4 separate regions of the Homo sapiens genome follow, and regions 2, 3 and 4 are each linked to region 1. The links are contacts of gene promoters, found by promoter capture Hi-C in blood cells and fetal thymus (Javierre and others, 2016). All regions are on one chromosome and are shown on one strand. Each heading gives the region's core, a stretch centred on a gene start or on the middle of the fragment in contact. The rest is flanking DNA. Distances are from core to core; before and after follow the strand shown.

The links. Contacts are between HindIII fragments. The CHiCAGO score rates a contact against its expected background, and 5 or more counts as called.
Region 2: the fragment with the promoter of KRT39 here is called in contact with the fragment with the promoter of KRT35 in region 1 in 2 of 17 cell types (naive CD8 T cells and non-activated CD4 T cells); the score reaches 9.0 in naive CD8 T cells.
Region 3: a contact is called between a fragment that was not itself captured here and the fragment with the promoter of KRT35 in region 1, in 5 of 17 cell types (M1 macrophages, total CD8 T cells, non-activated CD4 T cells and 2 more). The highest score is 9.1, in M1 macrophages.
Region 4: a fragment that was not itself captured here is called in contact with the fragment with the promoter of KRT35 in region 1 in 1 of 17 cell types (M2 macrophages); the score reaches 5.5 in M2 macrophages.

Annotation. Positions count from the first base shown.
Region 1 is chr17:41,479,512-41,482,448 of GRCh38, forward strand. KRT35 (keratin 35) reads right to left here and starts at 1,640. Exons shown (of 7, transcript NM_002280.6): 1 at 1,116-1,640; 2 at 188-270. The coding sequence starts at 1,586. The HindIII fragment of the contact is 10,492 bases long and covers 1,471-2,937 here.
Region 2 is chr17:40,965,667-40,968,390 of GRCh38, forward strand. It overlaps KRT39 (keratin 39), which reads right to left and starts at 1,282. Exons shown (of 7, transcript NM_213656.4): 1 at 723-1,282. The coding sequence starts at 1,190. The region is part of intron 1 of LOC107985072 (a long non-coding RNA gene); the gene reads left to right. The HindIII fragment of the contact is 5,044 bases long and covers 1-2,724 here.
Region 3 is chr17:40,949,101-40,951,936 of GRCh38, forward strand. The region is part of intron 1 of LOC107985072 (a long non-coding RNA gene); the gene reads left to right. Among named protein-coding and RNA genes, the nearest start is that of KRT23, 13 kb to the left of the region's middle. The HindIII fragment of the contact is 4,385 bases long and covers 1-2,836 here.
Region 4 is chr17:40,813,915-40,816,833 of GRCh38, forward strand. LOC105371776 (a long non-coding RNA gene) reads left to right here. Exons shown (of 4, transcript XR_934753.2): 4 at 34-214. Among named protein-coding and RNA genes, the nearest start is that of KRT10-AS1, 3.8 kb to the right of the region's middle. The HindIII fragment of the contact is 213 bases long and covers 1,564-1,776 here.

The DNA of each region.
Region 1 (2,937 bases), core at 390-2,889:
ATAGAACAGGGCACCTGAGTCTGCATTTCCTTTTTGCATCTAAGTCAGGCCTGCCCTCAGACTGTCCAGGTGCTGTGAGTCCTGCTTTTATGCCCCAATGACAGAGTACAGCCAAAACCCTGAGCTCAGGCATCACCTGTGTCCAGTTCTAGCAGCCCCCAACCACATGACAAGCAGGACAACTCACTTGGTCCTGAAGTCATCTGCAGCCAATTTGGCATTGTCAATCTCCACCACCAGCCTGGCATTCTCAGCCTTGCTGCATAGAGTCTGGAGATATGAAGAAGTTATTTCATTGCAAGAAAGGACATTCCACTTGTTGGAGCTCCCTAAAGCTGACAAGGGCTGACTCTGGAAGGAGGAAGTCACCCATCCTAGACCTCTGCTACTCCATGTGCATTGGAGTGTTATGGGCAGGCTCTAGGGATCAACTATGGAAAGTCCAGGGTTTCTTCCAGTGCAGTGTATCTGTGACCTGTTACTCAGGTTAGATAGCTGCATGAAAATGCAACAGGAAAGGCCTGGCATGATGAAATGAGGCTTCTTCCAATCTCCCTGTCTCCCAGGCCTACTGGGGGCCCAGGGCATTTCATTGCCAACAACATACCCCGGGATTCTCTGGTCATAAATGGTCCCTCACAGGAGCCAGCTATAACTTTGGGCCAGGCGAGAAGTGGATATGGGCCCTTGGCAAGAAAGAAACTTCTCTGACAGGCATTTTCTTCCCTGAGTTACTTATGGGAAGCCTGAACTGCACTGCACTAAATACATCAAACCCAATCCCCTGACTTTAAATAAAAGAGGAAATGAAAACTCAGAAGACTCAGAGGATTGGGCAATACCACCAAAGGTCACAGAGTTCATTCATAGACCTGATGTTCAAGCTCTGGCTCCAGTAACTGCCATCTGGGTCGCTTACCCAGCCTGAATCTCAGTGTTCTCAACTGTATAATGGGCTAATGATACCTCCCTCTTAAGGTTATTGGGAGGAGCAAATGAGGCCACAGAGATGAACATGCTTGGTGACTTCCAACATGCCCTATGGGAACAGAACTACCAATGAATGCTGGTGACACAAAGTTCCTGGGAATCCAAAGCCACTCTGAACCTCTTACCTTCTTCTGGAGCTCCTCGATGGTCCGGAAGTAGGACTGGTAGTCAGGGCACATGTAGGGGACCTGCTGCTCACACCACTCACGGATGCGGCTCTCCAGGCTGGCGTTCTCCTGCTCCAGCTGACGCACCTTCTCCAGGTAGCCGGCCAGGCGGTCGTTCAGGGATTGCATGGTCTCCTTCTCATTGCCAGTGAGGATGCCCTCCCCAAACCAGCCCCCACCCCCACTGTAGCTGGTAGCGAAGCCTCCAGCAGGGAGGCAGAGAGCAGGGAGGCAGCTGGTGGCCCTGTAGCTGCTTCTGCCCAGACCCACTGAGCAGGCAGAGAAACTTCTGGCCACAGGGGAGAGACTTGGAAGCTTGCAAGAGCTGCTGGAGTACATTGCGGACACACGAGTGGAGCCCCCACTGGCCCCTCCTGGGCTCTTGAGAGACCCAGAAGAGAAGCCGGCCTTGAGGCATTTGGAAGCCATGGCCCCTGCAACTCAGATGCAATTGATAGGTCTCTGAGGCCAGACACCCCAAAGCAGAGAAGCAGCTCCTTACCCCAGATTTATATCTCTGCCCCAGTGGGCATTGGTTGGCCTTTACAAAGTGTTTTCTCCTCATTAAAGTTAACACCACTTTCTATTAAAACCCCTCATTAACCTGTTATTTAGTTTCCTGTGAAAATTTACCAGTCTCATAAAATAGGAGCCCCATTACTATGTCAAGACTCATCTCCACCACCCCACATCACTGGGAAGACCAAGTCCCTGTCAGTTCTTCAAAGGGACCTGTCATTTGAGCCCAGACCTCAGCCTCCGCATTAAGCAAGCATGGGAGTTCAGCCACTGTCTTGACTTTCTCCAACTTTGACTTCTTTTATTGGCCTGAGGGAGTAGAGGAGGTCTCTGGGGTGCTCCCAGAAGATGGAAGGGTAAACTTGGTTGGTGCAGGAAGGCAGGGGTCTTGCAGCCAGGGAGACACAGAAGGCTCTTGAATTGGCCCAGAAAATATGGCTAAGGTGACCAATTTTCTTGGTTTCCCCAGGAATTTTCTGGCTTTAGTTCCGAAAGTTCCATATGCCAGGGAAACCTCAGTCCTCGGTAAAATGGGACAGCTTATCACCCTAGATACTGCAGAGCCCTGATGGACACTTCCCTACTCTTTCCCTTGCCAGGAAGTCTGTGCAGGTTGTAGAGCCTAAGTTCTAGCCACAATGCCTAGAGATCAGTTAATTGGACACCTGCCCATGATGACATCTAGGAGGGCATGTCTTCCCCAGCCCTGGTTGAGAAATGGAGAAGCCCTTCCTTCTGGCTGCCTGAATTGGAGCTCTTTTCACACAGCCCTATCAATAACCCGGCTGATGGTAGCAACCATCATTCACTGAGCATTTAGTACCCACCAGCCCCCACGCTGATCTGTCTCTATGCATTCTCTTATTCAGTCCTCACACAAACTCATGAGATTGGCATCACCAATAGCCCATTAAATAGAGGAGGCTTGGACTGTTTCAGGAGCCTGTCCCAGATCACAGCTGAAAAAGCATCTGTACAACTGTTCAAGGCATGCTATCTTCTTTAAGGCCTCACACACACCCTCCAACACAGTCGTGGATAGAAAGGTGCTGACTCCTACAGAAGGAGACAATGGTCAGAGTAGAAAATGGCTTACCCAAGGTCCACACAGGCTTCCCAGGGAGGCTAAAGCCCAGGCCTTGCAGCTCCAAACCACAGGCCCACCCCACTGCCTCTAAGGGCCCAGTCCTGGCCAGGCCTTCCCCCGAAGTCTGGCCCCTGCTCCAGCCCTGCTGTGCCCTCCCAGCTCTGAATGCCCAAG
Region 2 (2,724 bases), core at 32-2,531, 510 kb before region 1:
AGCATAAAAGGAGAAAAAGGTGGTGATGGTTGAAAAATGGATAAAAACTAAATTGCTTAGAAACTCATTAAAGCAAAATTTATTTTCTCTGATCTCTGTTTCCCTATTTTTATTTAAAAAATGGCAACAACTTGCTGTTAACATCTTTTGGTCCTGAGTCATCTAGTTATAATGGTAGAGTGTATTTCTGGAGAAAGGAAACACCATGAGACTCTTCTTTTTGTTTCTGATTTTTAAAGACATAGTCTCACTTTTGTCTGGGCTGGAGTGCAGTGGCAGGATCTTGGCTCATGGCAGCCTCAACCTCTTGGGCTCAAGTGATCCTCCCACCTCAGCCTCCCAAGTAGCTGGGACCACAGGCATGTGCCACCACGCCCATCTAATTTTTTTTTGTGTGTGTATGTGTGTGTGTGTGTGTGTGTGTGTAAGGATGGAATTTCATCATGTTGCCCAGGATGGTCTAGAACTCCTGGGCTCAAGTGATCTGTCTGCCTCAGCCTCCCAAAGTGTTAGGATTACAGGTGTGCATCACTGCGCCTGACCAGAAATACTATCAGACTCTGAATGCTGCCTCAAGATGACAATTTCACTCAAGAAATTTTTCTATTCTTCAAAAAAATTTTCAGCATCAACTGAACAAAAAATATTAAAGTTTAGCAAATAACTGTTGCTTGGAAACCATTAATTCACAACACGATTAAACAGGTTCTTAGGAATCTTACCTTCTGCTGGAGCTCCTCAATGGTAGTGTAGTAAGACAGGTAATCAGGACATAGAACAGGGAGCTCTTTGTTACTTTCTTCCTGGATTTTAGATTCCAGTTCAGCATTCTCTCGTTCTAGCATTCGCACCTTTTGCAGGTAGTTAGCAAGGCGCTCGTTCAAGATTTGCATGGTCTCCTTCTCATTACTGTTGATGCCTTCACCATACCAGCTGCAGTCATCCAGAGAAAAACGGGCATTGAAGTTGTTCATTAGGTAGATGGGCTTGCGACAAAAGCGAGGAGTGGGTTGGCAGCCCTGGTCCCAGGGAATTCTGAGAACGTGGCCAGCTGGTTGACAGTTGTTGACTGTAAGGCCACCAGGATGGCAGCCGTTGTTAGAAGAGATGGTACTAACATTTGTAATCCTAGAGCAGTTTTGACATGGGGTTGAAGGAGAATTGGTTGTTGTACAGCCCTTGGTGTCCATAGTATGTGTCTGGCTTTAGTTTGTTCCAGGTCTGTGGTCACCAGGATGAAAAGCTCAAGCCACCTCCACAGAGTCTGAATTCCAAGGCTCTTGGTGTTTTCCTCTTTGAAGTGCTTATATAGCCTCTCTTCTACGTGGTGTCACACAGGTGGGATGTTTTCCTTTCTCAGGTTTATATCAAATCCTGTAGGAACATCTTATTAGTCTGCTTTTTACTTGCTTAAGAAGAGTTATTTGTCTCATAAACATGTGCATTTAGGCTGTTAGTAAGTTATTACCCATCATAACTACTACTTGTCTATTGGACCCAGAGCTTCAAATTATGTCTTCAAAAGGAACTGTCCTAACAGCATCCATTATTAAGCAGGTGTGAGTATACTAAGTTCATTACATTCTTGTTGACCTCTCCACTTGGCACTGAGCTTAACCAGGAATGAGTTCATCCTTCTTTTCCTTTCTTCTCTAGAAAAGGGAAACTATTAATGTTTAATAATTATTGGTAAACTTAGAAATCAGAAGTCAATATTTTAGTTTGTTCTGCCCAAATGGTTTCCCCATTTTCAGTGTCAGGACAATGTGAGTATGAATTAAAATGTTAGTCTTTTAAAAGTCTTGTTTTAAAGATAATTGCTAGATTTATGTTTTAGCTTTCCATAAAATGTAATAACATAAAATAAAATATAAATAAAATATGAAATAAAATAAAAGCCATGGGGAAAAGGTAGGGTTTGATTGCTAATAAGAAATTTCTTGGAAAAGAGACTAGCTCTCTTTTGGTTTTCCAAAGTCCACATTTTATAACATTTTTAGTGCTTGGTGTTTGCTTGTGGTATTACATTAGATAAAAATGTATCACAGTGTTGGTTTATACTGGATGTTTAAATAGGATTCATTGAAAGGGGTGTGTTTTCTTTCTGAGGAATACTTACTCAGCATTTTCTTCAGAAAGTTACTTGCTGCTAATCCTTTATGGAGGCTCTAGGGGAACATCATTTTCTTGCCTTTTCCAGCTTCTACAGGCTGTCCACATCCTCAGCTAGTGGCCCCTTTTCATCCTTTTTTTTTTTTCTTGAATTATGAGATTTTTTGTACTTTGAGTTCTGGGATACATGTGCAGAACGTGCAGGTTTGCTACATAGGTATACAAGTGCCATGGTGGTTTGCTGTACCCATCAACCTGTCATCTACATTAGGTATTTCTCCTAATGCTATCCCACCCCTAGCCCCTCACCCCCTCACAGTCCCCGGTGTGATGTTCCCCTCCCTGTGTCCATGTGTGCTCATTGTTCAACTCCCACTTATGAGTGAGAACATGCAGTGTTTGGTTTTCTGTTCCTGTGTGAGTTTGCTGAGAATGATGGTTTCCAGCTTTATTCATGTCCCTGCAAAGGACATGAACTAATCCTTTATTATGGCTGTATAGTATTCCATGGTGTATATGTGCCACATTTTCTTTATCCAGTCCATCATTGATGGGCATTTGGGTTGGTTCCATGTCTTTGCTATTGTGAATAGTGCTGCAATAAACATACAT
Region 3 (2,836 bases), core at 211-2,710, 530 kb before region 1:
AAGGCAGAGTTAAGGGTGACGAGATGGCTGATGGTGAAGATGGAAATGGTGGACAAGCCCAGGAATGTGAGCAGCCTCTGAAAGCTGGAAAAGTTTGGCAATAAAACAAATCCCCCCCAGGACCTCCAACACTTTGATTTTAGTACACTGAGTCCCAAGTCAGATTTCTGAAATAGAGAACAGTAAGATAGTACATTCGTGTTTTGTGTTATTTTGAGCCATGAAATGCATGTCACTTTGTTACAGTGGCAGTAGAACATCGTAGTGTCTGTGTGTTTGTGGGGGAAACATCCAGTAGGAACTCTGGTGATGGATTTTTGCTGAAGATTTGCCAGGTCTGTCCTGCAGACCCTGGCCGAGCGTCGGATGAAGGGAGTACTGACAACACAGGCGTGCAGTGTAAGAGCAGCTAGGGGTCTGCCGGCACTTAGGGCCAAAGAAGAGAGCAGCTGCGAACAGCTGAAGCTGCTTGCTTTTATTCAGTACAGACATAATGCCGAAAGCCTGGAGCAAACACAATCTGCGGGTAATTAACATTATTGTTCCCCTTTTCAGGGAGCAGTCATGTGCACAGATTATCAAAGGTCGGTTTCTGGACAACCTAAGTAAACAAGCCTGTTTACGATAAATTCCCCTACACCTCCTTGTACCTACTCCTTGCCCTCTGCCTCAGGATCAGAGAACAGCTGCCTTCAGCTTATTCTCCCCTGAAGCTATGCAGAGCCTTCTGAACTTTCAGAAGGTTTGCATCCTTTCCCTATAGTTTCTCCCACCACTCTGACCAATCTCCTACAAAGATTAAATCAAGGTGAATAGAATGTGTTTTCCATGTGATTTATAAAACATATTTTCCATACACATACTTAGTCTAGATCTTTAATTATTAGCGTAACAGCAAAGATGGTTATAGTTACTATATTTCATAAACCCTAAAAAGGCAAATTATAGGTGGATTTTTAAATTTTCAAATTAATATATATGATATACCTCAGAAAATTATAGAATTTAAATCACATTTAATTAAACATTTTACAAATAATTTTTACGGAGAAGCATAAAATTACATAAAAGGAAGGCTGTTCCTGAAGATCCACGGCACGTGGGAACCATCATTAGGGCAAATGTGAATATGTGTCTTTTATTTACAACCAAAGCCTATTTCCCTCCTGATCTCACCCTTTGTCCACAGCTCGTCTTTCATCCTTAATTATTATTTACTACATAGTCTTTGTGTCATTACTACAAAGAGACGGTGCTGTAACTGGGACGCTGGACACGGTCCCTGCAATCTTAGTCCCACTGTACATTCTGTTCCATGTAAGTGAGCTCCAAATGACCTCTTGGTTCTTCTTACTCTGCAGCCACAAAAACATATCCATTTTGCTCCTTTCTCTTTCTTATTTTGTCTATTTCTCCCAGTGCCTCTCCTGAATACACTAATATAGCATCTTCTGTTTTTTTCTGAACCCAACACGTTTGATTTCATTTCTGATTACCATCCCTCTAATTATAATTTGTAGCCTTTCTTAAAAGGGACCCTGTGGGGGTGGGGGGGGGCAGTGGGTGTGGTTGCTCACACCTGTAATCCCAGCACTTTGGGAGGCCAAGGCAGGTGGATCATCTGAGGTCAGGAGTTCGAGACCAGCCTGACCAACGTGGAGAAACTCTGTCTCTACTAAAAAAAAAAAAAAAAACCACAATTGTCTGGGCATGGTGGCGCATGCCTGTAATCCTAGCTACTTGGGAGGCCAAGGCAGGAGAATCACTTGAACCCAGGAGGTGGAGGTTGCGGTGAGCCGAGATCGTGCCATTGCACTCCAGCCTGGGCAACACGAGCAAAACTCTGTCTCAAAAAAAAAAAAAGAAAAAAAATGGAATCCTGGGGGTGGACTTTGGATATTTCATCCTATCAGCCTTGTGTCCTGTTACTCTTGGGATGGGTCAAAACCAGGAAGTCCCCTGCAGCTTTGGCAGCCCACAATTGCTGATGAAGCCACAAATTGTTGGAAACATGAATATCCGGCATTCATTGTTTTGAGCCTATGCTCGCCATGAATATGAACTAGTTAGAAATGAGACCTACACTTTCCCAATGCTTCTCCATTCAAGACCTCTTGGCTTTATATCTAGTAGAGCAGGGCTATACTGTGCCAATCTTCTAGCAATAAACTTCACACAAATCCAACAGCCTAATTGTTGTGGTTAGAATGAGAAGAGATGAAGATGCTGTTGAGTTAGGTCATCTGGTCTCCAAAGCAGAACTTCACAAGGTGATACTTTCTTGTGAAGTCACAGTGGTCTATGTCTGTTCTTAGGCTGGTGGGTTATTAGTGCACCAGAACCAAAGGGATTCTCAGGAGCTGACTCAGAGTAACCTGACTTTTAAGTGCCAGATGAAAGAGACAGAATGCAAACTTATTAATTTAACATTGAAAGATGATCCATTTTGCAACCACAGAGTTCCCAACTGCAAATCAATGCACCTTCTTTGTTGTACCTAAGAATTAGAGAAACCAAATTGTAATATGAAGGCTTTTGTCAAAAATGGAACTAGAAGAGGGATATGGGGTCTTGAGGAATGAGGTTGAAAAACTGCCTCAAGTCCACACGTGCTTAGATGGTGTTCATGAGTTCAGTGTTGCCCCTTCCTGGATTGGGCTGGACACTGTTGTGTTGTGTTTTTAGGGCTCACTTTCTCTTTTTAAAATATTTTCTTAACCACTTGAACCACCAGGGATATGGCTCACCTTCTTTAGACCTCCAAGACAAGCATTATTTCTTTAATTCTTTATAGCTTTCATTAGGCTACATGTATGACATTTTCAAACTTGAGTAA
Region 4 (2,919 bases), core at 420-2,919, 670 kb before region 1:
TTGGTACCTAACCTGTGTTAGTCACTGTTCTAGTGCCTCAGGATACATGAATGGATAAAGTAGACGAAGATCAAGCGTTGTCTTTCTGGAGTGTACCGTCTAGCAGGGGAAAAGGATGACTAATAATGAATACATTGTATAGTAAGTTGGAAACAGTGCTGTGAAAAAAAGAAAAAGTGGAAAACCTAGGCAATACCATTCAGGACACAGGCATGGGCAAAGACTTCATGACTGAAAAACCAAAAGCAATGGCAACAAAAGCCAAAATTGACAAATGGGATCTAATTAAACTAAAGAGCTTCTGCACAGCAAAAGAAACTATCATCATGGTGAACAGGCAACCTACAGAAAGGGAGAAAATTTTTGCAATCTACCCATCTGACAAAGGGCTAATATCCAGAATCTACAAAGAACTTAAACAAATTTACAAGAAAAAAACAACCCCATCAAAAAGTGGACAAAGGAAATGAACAGACTTCTCAAAAGAAGACGTTTATGCAGCCAACAGACATATGAAAAAATGCTCAACATCACTGGTCATCAGAGAAATGCAAATCAAAACCACAATGAGATACCATCTCACACCAGTTAGAATGGCGGTCATTAAAAAGTCAGGAAACAACAAATGCTGGAGAGGATGTGGAGAAATAGGAACGCTTTTACACTGTTGGTGGGAGTGTAAATTAGTTCAACCATTGTGGAAGACAGTGTGGCAATTCCTCAAGGATCTAGAACTAGAAATACCATTTGACCCAGCGATCCCTTTACTGGGTATACATCCAAAGGATTATAAATGATGCTACTATAAAGACATATGCACACGTATGTTTATTGTGGCACTATTCACAATAGCAAAGTCTTGGAACCAACCTAAATGTCCAGCAATGATAGACTGGATTAAGAAACTGTGGCACATATACACCAGGGAATACTATGCAGCCATAAAAAAGGATGAGTTCATGTCCTTTTCAGGGATATGGATGAAGCTGGAAACCATCATTCTGAGCAAACTATCACGAGGACATAAAACCAAATACCACATGTTCTCACTCATAGGTGGGAGTTGAACAATGAGAACACATGGACACAGGGTGGGGAACATCACACACCTGTTGTGGGGTAGAGGGCTGGGGGAGGGATAGAATTAGGGGAAATACCTAATGTAAATGACGAGTTAATGGGCGCAGCCAACCAACATGGCACACGTATAACTACGTAACAAACCTGCACATTCTGCACATGTACCCTAGAACTTAAAGTATAATAATAATAAAAAAAGTGGAGCAGATAGGGGAGTTGGGAGATTGGCAGGTAAAATTTTAAGCGGAAAATCAGAGTGGGTCTCAAAGAAAAAGTGACAACTGTGCAAAGGCTTGAAGGAGGTAAGGAAGACCATCTTGTTAAAGAATATTAACCAAGGTAACATCAAAAGAGAAATGGAGAGACATCAAAGAATTTTGATCAAATATAATTAGACTTACAATTTGATCTAATATATTAGACTTACATTTTAAAAGGATAACTATGGTTCTGTGTTGAAAATAAACTGTAGGGTAGTAGCTAAGCTTAAATGAGTTCATATACATGTTATATGTACTGAGTCTACCTACCTATCTGTATCTATCTATCTATCTATCTATCTATCTATCTATCTAATCTATCTATCTATCCATCCACACATTTACCCACCTACCTACCTATCTATCCATCCATCATTTACTCAGAACAATGCCCGGTGTGATTTAAAGGCTATTATTATCATTATTTTCATTGTCAAGCTTAGTTTAACCACAACTACCTCATATAAGGTAGCTATCCCTTATTGTATAGGTAAGTAAACAGACTCAGAAGGGTTGAAGTAACTTGTCCAAAGGTACATAATTTGTAAATGCCAGTGCCAGGATAGGAAGTCCAGGGATCACTGTGTTTCAGTTGCATGCTCATAAACCATGAATAAGCTCTTTCCCTAATTCCCATTCTCAAAATGCAATATAGATGAGAAATATTAGATGCATCCTATTTAACCTTAATCGAGTTACTTCCCTGATAAAGATGACCCTAACAAAGCTATTTCTTCACTCCCAAGCAAAATATCAAGCCATCATGGGCACCAAGATTAGGGTGCAAAGCTTTTAGGCCTTTAGCATCATAAGAGAACATCTTTGGGGAAACAGGATTTTATCGTGTAATATTTTTTGACATGGGTGCCGAATTGGCTCTGCCAATCTAATTAGGCACTACCCTGCTTAAATAGCAGGATTCTGTAATGACTTTAGAATCTGTAAGAATGCATACAGAATTTTTTGATTAATAGGTACATGCAAATTTATTTGGTAAAAATAGTGCCCTGTGCTATTTAATAATTTTTAAAAATAATTCTGTAATTTTTTTTACTATAAATACCAATGTCCTTATTAAAGACAAGTGGCTTATTTAGACAGATTATCTTTATTAAACCATAGTGTTGGGCACTGCGGCATGTGCCTATAATCCCAGCTACTCAGAGACTGAGGTGGGAGGATTGCTTGAGCCCAGTTCAAGACTAGCATGGGCAACACAGTGAGACTTTGTCTCATTAAAAAAAAAAAAAAAAAAGCAAAAACAAACCATAGTTATCCAAGTCCAATCAAGAAAGCAGCTGTTTATCTGAGATAAAGTATTTACTTTATCAGAGAGAATATAAATAATTGTTTAAGGAGGTATTGCAAGATTGAAATGGTAAGAAGACAGGACCACGATGTATGCAGACTTTTCAGGAATGAAAGTTTGGGTCACCATCCAACCACATAGAGGACTCTGACTGCTAAGATTGTGGCCTGGGGGAGGAGGGCAGAATGGGTAGAAGAGACAAACTTAACAGCAAGCACTGCTATCTCATAGTAACATATGTGTACTTGCCTCGTATCAGTGGTATTGAAT